Regions from separate parts of the Homo sapiens genome. Here region 1 is linked to region 2. Evidence: promoter capture Hi-C in human tissues and cell types (Jung and others, 2019). All regions are on one chromosome and are shown on one strand. The core of a region is centred on a gene start or on the middle of the fragment in contact, and the rest is flanking DNA. Distances in the headings are between cores, read along the strand shown. Region 1 overlaps SEPSECS-DT (SEPSECS divergent transcript). Region 2 holds the start of CCKAR (cholecystokinin A receptor).

Evidence for each region. The method cuts DNA at HindIII sites, captures the fragments that hold promoters and counts their contacts. A contact is called where the count stands out against the background at its distance.
Region 1: a fragment that was not itself captured here is called in contact with the fragment with the promoter of CCKAR in region 2 in 1 of the 25 tissues and cell types used here (aorta).

What each region holds. Positions count from the first base shown.
Region 1 is chr4:25,192,366-25,197,617 of GRCh38, forward strand. It overlaps SEPSECS-DT (SEPSECS divergent transcript), which reads left to right. Exons shown (of 2, transcript NR_037934.1): 2 at 5,103-5,252. LOC105374535 (a long non-coding RNA gene) reads right to left here. Exons shown (of 4, transcript XR_925490.3): 2 at 4,333-4,450. Among named protein-coding and RNA genes, the nearest start is that of SEPSECS-DT, 34 kb to the left of the region's middle. The HindIII fragment of the contact is 4,908 bases long and covers 1-4,262 here.
Region 2 is chr4:26,487,011-26,492,023 of GRCh38, forward strand. CCKAR (cholecystokinin A receptor) reads right to left here and starts at 3,474. Exons shown (of 5, transcript NM_000730.3): 1 at 3,146-3,474; 2 at 2,223-2,474. The coding sequence starts at 3,257. The HindIII fragment of the contact is 14,703 bases long and covers 1-5,013 here.

The sequences.
Region 1 (5,252 bases), core at 559-3,058, 1.3 Mb before region 2:
CTCAGCTCCTTGCAACCTCCACTTTCCAGGCTCAAGAGATCGTCCCACTTCAGCTTCCCAAGTAGCTGGGACCACAGGTGTGTGCCATCACGCCCGGCTCATTTTTTGTATTTTCGGTAGACACTGGGTTTTGCCATGTTGCTCAGGCTGGTCTCAAACTTCTGAGCTCAGGAGATTCACCTGCCTTGGCCTCCCAAAGTGCTGGTATTTCAGGTGTGAGCCACTACACCCAGCTATCAACGAAATCCTTTTAAATAAGTGCTAGGTATTCCACTGCCTAATACAAACTGTGTCATAACTTATCTCTTATTGATAGATCTTTGAAGTTATTTCCAAATTTATTACACAATACGTCAATGAACATCTTATACATATATTTTGCATTCTTGTCTGAATATATTTTATTAGAGCTGTGTGCAGTGGTGCCTGCTTTTACTTCCAACTACTTGGGAGGATGAGGTAGGAGGATCACTTGAGCCCAGGAGTTTGAGAATAGCCTGGGAAAAAAAAAAGAAAATATATACTTCCTTAAAATATATTACCAGAGGTAGAATTTATGGGTCAAATAGGATTACATCCCAGAAATATTATACCAATTTATATCACTTCAGTTGTCTTGGGTCTATATCTAGGAGTGAAATTGATGGGTCATTTGGTAAACCTATATTTAACTTTCAGAGTAACTGCCACACAGTTTTCCAGAGAGTTTTTATAGTAACTGTTGAACAGTTTTTCAGAGCAGCTGCACCATTTTATATCCTCTCAACAGTGTATAAGGGTTCTGTTTTTTTTAATTATTCATTCATTTTTTTTAAATATAAAGATGGGAGTCTTACTATGTTGCCTGGGCTGGTCTCAAACTCCTGAGTTCAAGCAGTCCTCCTACCTCAGTCTCCCAAAGTGCAGGGATTATAGGTGTGAGCCATTGCACCAAGGGTTCTAATTTTTTCACATACTGATCAATACTTGTTATTATCTGGCTTTTTTTTTTTTTTTTTGAGACAGAGTCTTACTCTGTCACCCAGGCTGTAGTGCAGTGGCATGATCTCAGCTCACTGCAACCTCTGCCTCCTGGGTTCAAGCGATTCTCTTGACTCAGCCTCCCGAGTAGCTGGAATTACAGATGCCTGCCACCACACCTGGCTAATTTTTGTATTTTAGTAGAGATGGGGTTTCACCATGTTAGTCAGGCTGGTCTCAAACTCCTGACCTCAAATGATCTGCCTGCCTCAGCCTCCCAAAGTGCTGGGATTACAGGTATGAGCCACAGCGCCCGGCCTATCTGGCTGGCTTTTTTATTATAACTATACTAGTAAGTATGATGTGGTATCTCACTGTGATTTTGGTTTGCATTTCTCTAATGGCTACTGAGGTTGAGTATCTTCATGTGCTTATTGGCCATTTGTAAATCTTCCTTTAAGAAATTTCTAAGGCCAGGCACAGTGACTCACACCTGTAATCCCAGCAATTTGGGAGGCTGAGGTAGGTGAATTGCTTGAGGCCAGGAGTTGAAGACCAGCCTGGGCAATACAGTGGGACCCCATCACTACAAAAAATTGAAAAATTAGCCTGGTGTGGTGGCAATGCACCTGTAGTCTCAGCTACTCAAGGGAACTGAGATGGGAGTATCTCTTGATCCCAGATGGTTGAGGCTGCAGTGAGCTATGATTGTGCCACTGCACCCCAGCCTGGGTGACAGAGTGAGATACTGCCTTACAAAGAAAGACTAAGTCTAACTTCAAATGGGATGGGGAGGTACATTCTTCCCACAGCTGATTATATATAGGTAATTAAAAATCCAGTCTATCACATAAGTATTTTATATATATTAATTTGTTTAATCCTCTCAACAATTCCCTGTTGCTATCTTCATTTTACGGGTAAAAAAACAGAGACACAGAGAGGTTAAGCAATAGCTCAAAGTCACACAGCTCATAAGGGCAGAGCTGAAATGCCTGATTTTAAGACCAGGAGCTCTAGCTCTATTGTCCATGCTCTTTTAAGACAACTAAAGGGGACAAGGGAATTTGTGGTGGAAAACTAGGACTGGTATAACCAGGCCCCACTTTCCAAAGGCACAATCACCACCACTATGACTATATCACCCTCATTTTACCCCAATTAGGATCAAATCTCACCCACCCACTTACTGATATTTTAGAAGGGCAAAAGAAAGAGGTAAGGGAAAAATGAAGATGAAGGTGAATGAAATGAAATGAAAGTTACCAAAAGCCCAAAAGGATAAGTCATTTGCCACTTCTTACTTCAAAATTGTTAACAAGAGATAAAGCATAAGCACTGCCCAATTCGATGCCAACTAGAAACTGCTGCTCTACCTGTACTGGTGCCCTCTGGCTCAGAATCAGCCCTGTCCTTAGCCTTGCCCTCCAGAGTAGATACCTTTTTGTGGAACTATTGGAGAAAGAAGGTATTTTTTTTTCTGAGTTTGCCGAGAGGACAAACTACTGGCAGGTATTTTGTTACCTCTAGAGACTGGCTTGTCTGAGAATGAAGCCACTGTAGAGGAAAGCAGGCAAGACAGGAAACAGGCAAACCAATTCTTTGACACTTTTGAGCTCCTGGATCTAGCCACGTCTGAAGTCAAATATGACCTAGATTTTCAGTTGTGTGAGCTAACCAATTCCTTTTTTTTTTTTTTTTTTTTTTTTTTTTGAGATGGAGTCTTGCTCTGTCGCCCAGGCTGGAGTGCAGTGGTGCCATCTCGGCTCACTGCAAACTCCGCCTCCCAGGTTCAAGCAATTCTCTGCCTTAGCCTCTTGAGTAGCTGGGATTATAGGCACCTGCCATCACGCCCAGCTCATTTTTGTATTTTTAGTAGAGATGGGGTTTCACCATCTTGGCCAGGCTGGTCTTGAACTCCTGATCTCATGATCCACCCACCTCAGGCTCCCAAAGTGCAGGGATTACAGGCATGAGCCACCATGCCTGGCCATCAATTCCCTTTTTATGGATAAGAAGTTAAGCTGAATTTCTAATATTAAAATAAAAGAATCTTATATACCCACAAAGTCTTCCTGTCTTTTTTCTTTTATCTTTTTTTTTTTTTTTTTTTTTTTTTTACAGGGTATCACCCTGTCACCCAGGCTGAAGTGCAGTGGTACAATCATATCTTACTACGACTTCTAACTCCTGGGCTCAAGTGATCCTCCTGCCTTGGCCTCCCAAATCTTCCCGCTTTTAAAGTCAATTCCAAAGAAGCCATCATATACCCTACACAGGAAGAGGAAAAGGCTTGTATTTAAGAAATGAGAATTGGCCAGGTGTGGTGGCTCACACCTGTAACCCCTTTGGGAGGCTGAGGCAGGAGGATCTCTTGAGGCCAGGAGTTTGAGACTAGCATGAGCAACATAGCAAGACGCTGTCTCTACAAAAAAGAAATAAAATAGTCAGGTAACATGACATAGGCCTGTAGTCCCAGCTACATAGGAGGCTGAAGCAGGAGGATCTCTTGAGCCTAAGAGGTCGAGGCTGAGTAAGCCACAATTGCACCACTGCACTCCAGCCTGGGTGACAAGAGACAGACTCTGTCTCAAAAAAAAAAAAAAAAAAAAAAAATGAGAATCAACTTAAGAAAAGCAAATGAAGCTCATGAGGGATGATACGACTTTCCTAGGCACCAGCTCTTGAAATTATCACCCCTTCCACCCATCCTCACAGCCTCCAGTTTTTAGAAAAGCATGAATAAGAGCAGAGGAGGAACTGGCCACCAGGATGCATGGAGAGACACCAGCATACTAAGTCTCTTAGGTCTCCACTAAAAAGATTTAGTGCTAGAAAGCTTCAGTGAAGTCTCCTATTCCTAAAATTCATTGCAGCCATAAAAGCACCGCCGTATTTTCATGAGCTATTAAAACAAACAGTTAAAAATAAAGTCCATTTGGTATCCAATATCCTTCACACGACTATATTTTTTCATGTATTTGTGAAGCAAAACAATTCATTTAACTGCAATACATCTCCTGTAACTGATTCAGATTTCCAGTCTATTTTGCATCCTGAAATAATAAACTGCAATTTCTCCAGCCATATAATTTATAAATTACATACACACATCACGACATTAAATACATTCTCTTAGTTTCTTCTCTTCAGTTTTCTCAACTGGTGTTTTATTTGGACAATTGATGAAATCACAAATGTTGAGCACCAGAGGAGTAAGAATAGTATAAAGGGAGGCTATTAGTATTTATTTGATACCTATCACATCACATGTTTTTTTTTTTTCACTTAATACTGATCCTGATCTTTAAAGCAATTGTTATTGTTCCCATTTTTCTGATGGAAAAGCCAGAAAGTGAGTAAGTTACTTACCCAAGTTTAAACAGCTATAAAATAGCTATGGCAGATACTGTTGGTTGCTTGTCTATAACCATTTTTCTTCTTCTTCTTTGCTGGCTGAACATGCTTCTCATTAAAGAAGTTGAAAATGCTGGAAACTCAAAAAGAAGGAAAATGCTGGAAACTTTTTTAAATTTTTGAAACAGGGTCTTGCTTTGTTGCCCCAGGCTGGAGTGCGGTGGCACTATCTCGGCTCACTACAACCTTGACCTCCTAGGCTCAAGCAATCCTCCTCCCTCAGCCTCCCAAAGTGCTGCTATCACAGGCATGAGCCACCACACCCAGTCATTGGAAACTCTTCATCCAGACTTTTCTGCTATGGCATGAGCATATCACCTAACCCAGCCAATGGGGCCAGAGGGAAAGCTTGCTGGAGAGTTATGAGAAAGTTTTTTTTTTTATTAAAAAATAAAATAAAATGCACAAACAAGGAGAACCATTCCCCTTCTCCTCACCTGCTTTTTGTATGTGGATGAGATCTTGTAATGATATTAATATAATACGAGAAACTGCAGAGACCATCTTAAGACCAGGAGGGTAGGAATGAGGAGATGAAGTTCAGTGCCCTAAAACACTCTAAAGAGGGTAAAAAGAAAAAGTGGTCCCTAATGTCTTTGATTCTCTCAATTGACTAACCCTGGAACTTCTCCAACTCAGGACTTAGGACTGTACGTGATGCATAGTAGCGTTTACCATTTATCGAATAAATAATTAAGTGACTTTTTTTTTTTTTTTTGAGACAGTCTCACTGTGTCGCCCAGGCTGGAGTGCAAGTGGCATGATCTTGGCTCACAACTGCAACCTCCGTCTCCCGGGTTCAAACGATTCTCCTACCTCAGCCTCCCGAATATCTGGGATTACAGGTGCCCACCACCATGCCTGGATAATTTTTA
Region 2 (5,013 bases), core at 2,224-4,723:
TGCCCAAAAAGCTTAACTTCCATTATTTTTGTATTTGTATATGCATACTTATTAAAATGTCCTATTATTCCCTTAAAATTCCCTGTAGAGTCCTTCTGCTATAAATTCTGTCAATTCTTCTGAATATCTCTTACCAAGATTTCTTAAACCTCAGAATTAATATAAATTTGGGAGCAGAGGTCCTGAAACTGGGGTCCTTAGATTCTCCTTATTCTTATGGATATAAACTAATTCTCTGAAACTATATCCAAAAATGTCATTTTTCTAGGGAGCCTAGCTCTAGCTTTCCTTAGAGTCTTAAAAAAGTCTATGACCCCCAAACCATTAACTAAAAACTCATGTTCTGGGGATAGGATTTGCTGTGTTTTACTGGATTTTACTCTAAAGAGTTGATGACATTTAGAGTGAAGAGTACGGCCCAAAAATCTCTAAGACTCAGTTCTGCATAATGGATCATCAATAACTATAAACTCACTGGCAGGCAAGCATTCTTTTTCTTTTTGCTACAAATTAGGAGCTAATGAATGTTAATTATTAGTATTGAGGAGACTGCAAAATTAAGAGAAGAGCCTAAATTATTGGAATTAAAAATCCAACAAAATTATTATGGTATTGCAAATACTTTCAGAATGATGTTGCTTTTCTTTTGCCCAATAAAATATTTTTTATGCAGTTGAAATTTACATAACATAAAATTAACCTCATTTCAAACTGAACAACTCTGTGGCACTCACAATGTTTTGCCACCATGAAAACACTCATTTAAAATCTCGGTTCACATTCTCTGGTTAAGGTTCCCAAATAGTATTACCATAAGATATATATGGATGGGCCTCGGATGTCTACAGTGCTAGTTATTATTATTGCTTCATTATTTAACAACGATCTTTTTCCTTTGTAAGTTTTGTCTTTTTTTTTTTTTTCAGAGGACTTGGACATGGATTGACACATTCTTGGTTTTTGGTGGCACGAGGGTCAGTAATTCACCATCATTTTGTCAGTGTGGAATCCCACTTCCTCAACTGGGAAAAATGAGGACTTATAAGGCTTTCTGGTCATTGAAGACTGCCCTAGCCTAACTCAGTTCTGCATATTCTGCAAGGCTTGGGTCAGAACAAAAAATAACTCCCTTCTTATTTCCCATCTCTGCCCTTCTCCCAACTAATTCTCAGAAAGGGCAAGGGACTAGGCAATCTGGCACCCAGAGGGGACCAAGAAATGTGTTTTTTTGTTCAACTTTAAGAGAACCACAGCAGTTGGCAAACTGAGGTATCATGCTCACCATTGTGTGGCTACAAATCTGGACTCAAATCTCAGCTCTGTTGCTTACCATCTGTGTGGTTCTAGGCACATTATGGACCTCTCTGTGCCTCTGTTTCCTCCTTAGGGAGACAAGGAAGAATCATTGCATTTACTTCATAGAGTGGTTGGGAGATAAGGTAAGATCATGGAAGGCAAAGCACTTAGTACCACATGGGGTGCATAAAAGCGCTAAAAAAATTTAGCTCTTATGATTTTCATTATCATCATTTTTGTTTGGCATAGGCAAAGAGCTATATATCTCAGCCAATCAGGGTCAGCTTAGCGACCCCATAGCCCCCAGGAGCAAATTCAACTCCTCATCTAGGGGCAGAGACCTCTCTCTCTCTCTCTTTCTGCCAGAGATGGCCCCAGCTTTGGGGAGAACAGGCTGGGAAGTGAATCCTGAGAAGAGAATCTGAAACTGCGATAGAACTGGTTTTCAAATAGCCCCTGTTCCCTAAGAAAACAAAAGAAACAACTGCAAAGAACCCTCCTCCATCATCCTCACCCTCCCTAGAAGCCAGGACTCAAGTTGTGTATAGATCAGGACACAGTCAACAGCTTCCAGAAAGGGATAGAGCAGCTTAAAGTCACTTCTGACTTCAAACAGAAGCAAGCAAGTCCCTCTTCCCTTCAAATAGAAGCAAGCAAAATCAACTGCCCCTGTGTTTTCCTATCAATTTATTTCACTCTTAGAAACTGACCTCCAACATGGATGATGGGGACCGACTTGTGGGGAACGTATAAGGATGACTGTCAAGCCAGCACCAATGTCCGTGCACACAGCCATGCACAGCCTGATGTTCTGTGATTCAGCCCTCAGCAGGGCTCCTTTGCTGTGATTGTCAGAGGTTTGGGAAGGTCTGGGGCTGAGTGGGGTCTGGGGCAAGCTCCAGAAAGAGTCACCAGCAGCAACTTACCCATGAAGTAGGTGGTGGTCTTGCAAACGGCGCTCCCGAAGATGAAATCCTTGAGCAGATTGGGGATGAGGTTGAACGGCATGCAGAAGAGACAGAGCATGAGGTCGCTGACAGCCAGGGAGAGGAGGAAGATGTTGGTGACCGTCCGCATCCGCTTGTTCCGAATCAGCACGGTGATGACCAGCGTGTTTCCCAGCACGCTGAGCAGGAATATCAAGGAGTACAAGAGAATCTGCACCGCTGGCTGCCACTCTGCAGAGAGAAACAGGAGCAAGACGGAGGGATGGAGGTGATGACAGCAGAATGCTAAAACCGAAGCCAAGGGTGAATTCCTGCCGATTTTCCCCCCACCGGGGTGTACATCACTGGACCCACGATTCCTGTCCTGGCAACATTTTGCGGAAACAAATTGAGGAAAGCAGAGACTGAATTATTTTCTTTTTAGAAGGTTGGTTTGTTAAAGGATCACTCAGGGAACCACTTTTTCTTAAGAACAAAGCTCCTCAAGTGAACAGTGATCACTTTCTTTCCTGGCTGCTAAGCATTATTTCACTTTAATCACTTCATGCTGGGTTTCCCCCCAAGAAAAGAAAACAGCTGCATGGTGACAACACCTTTTCTGCTGTGCTTGTAAGTTCAGGCTTTGACACTTGTAGTCCCTCTTGCTTCACTCAGCTTTTCCTCCCCTGCTTTTGTTCCCCCAAGTCCTATTCATGAATGCCCAACTCCCCCATGGGGGACAATAAGAATATTTGACTCTATTCTGCTTTTTAATCTCTTCTCCAAACTTCTGAACATATGACTTTATCTAGCCTTGTCTCACAATGACTTGGTTATATATATTTTTTATCAGCCTTGCCTTTGCTGATTTCTCCCACAACTCAATAGTTTCCTGAATTAAAATAACAGCTTCCGACACTTACCTTTGGAAGGACGGGGCTGATCCAAGCAGAAAAGCGTCTCATTTTCGAGCCCGAGTTCACAGGGAGGAGTGATGTTGCTTCCATTCACAAGAAGGCTGTCAACCACATCCATCCTTGCCTGCTGCTTTCCACCAAGTGCTGGAGAGCTGGTGAATTGCTCACTCCCGGCTCATTCCTCTAATGACCGAAGCGTCTCGCAGATGCAACCTGCCGTGGAGGAGCAGGGAGGGAGTGATTTCCAGGTGTGGGCTTTTTCAGCCATTCCTAAAGGCGACTTGAGTTCACCTCACTCACTCCAGCATTTGTACTCCTGTTGTGGAAAAGGCAGTGAGCACAAGCCAAGCCCGCTCCACCTTCACCCCGCCCCACCTCCCCCGGCCCTTTCCTGGGCCAGTCTTAGGGCCCTGAGTACAGACAGCCTGGCTACCCGTTAACCATTCTCAGCGTGTGGCTGCTTTTTACACACATGTGTACATATGCACGGACACACACACACACACAGAGGCTTCCCCAGTACTCCTCTATATAGGAACCCGTCACCATCCCAGACATATGCAGAAGAAAGCCCAAACCGGCTGTGTGAGACAGGAACAATTAACACGGTAACAGATCCGATAATGCAGACCATCAGGCCTAAAGAACACGGAGGGACTGTGTTCTACCTCCTTATAGAAAAGCAATTAGTGCCTTTTTAGCTTTGGAACCATGCCCGGTGGTGTGTGTGTGGACAGAACTGCTGGCTGGTTGTTAAGTTGCTACTAAACACAGTGTTGTTTCTCGTGGTCTCTGCCCTTGTTAACTAGGATTGAGGCACTTTTGAACATAGGTACCTGGGTCCTTATTACAAAAGACGTTAGTGAGATTTCCTCTTCATTCATGAAGCCTTGCATTCAGCACATCTTCATTGAGAGTCAATCATTTGCCAGGCACTTTTCTAGCATGTCAGCAAATAATGAGCAGAATTATTTCAGGTAGTAAGTACTACAAAGGGAGTAAAGCAGGGAGATGTGATGTATACAAACAGATTAGGGGCTGATTTTTTGGGGGGCGGGGACAGGGTCTTGCTCTGTTCCCCAGGCTGCAGTGGAGTGGCGCGATCATGGCTCACTGCAGCCTTGCTCCCTGGCTCAAGCAATCCTCCTACCTTAGCCTCCTGAGTAGCTGGGACTACAGGCACACACCACTAAGCCCAGCTGATTTTTTTAGTTTTAGAAGAGAGGAGGTCTCGCTATGTTGCCCAGGCTGGTCTCAAGCTCCTGAGCTCAAGCAATCCTCCTGCCTTGGCCTCCCAGTGTTGGCATTACAGGCGTGAGCCACTGCACCTGGCCTGGGGCTGCTGATTTAGAAGGGGTAGTCAGGAGAGGTCTCTTAAGGAGGGGACTGTGATCTGAGACTGAACCACAAGAAGGACAAAGTCTTGTGAAGATCCCAAGACAGCTTCTCCCAGGCAAAAGGAGGAGCACTTTTAGCAGAGGTAACAGCAAGTGCAAAGGCCCTGAGGTGGGAATGAGTGTGGCCCCATTGAGGTACAAATAGATAGAAGTAGGAGTGAGTGAGAGGCAAACAGCAGGACGTGAGATCAGAGAGGGGGGCCATCTCAGGGTCCTGGGTGTTCCATGAAGCTCTGTGGTGCTGGAAAGCCCTTCAACCTCCATTGCACAGATTATGTCCTCAGTTCAGACCCTTTGGAAAGCAGACGACAATGGCTGTGAAACCTGCGTTTCTGACGCCCTGCTTGGCTGTGCTGAGACTTGGTCCATTTGCTAGATACCCGTGGGGCTCCTTGTGTACTGACAATGCTTCCACTGGCAGAGCTGCATGCTACATCTTGCTGAGTCTCTGCCAGACACAGAGGAACTAACGCATTT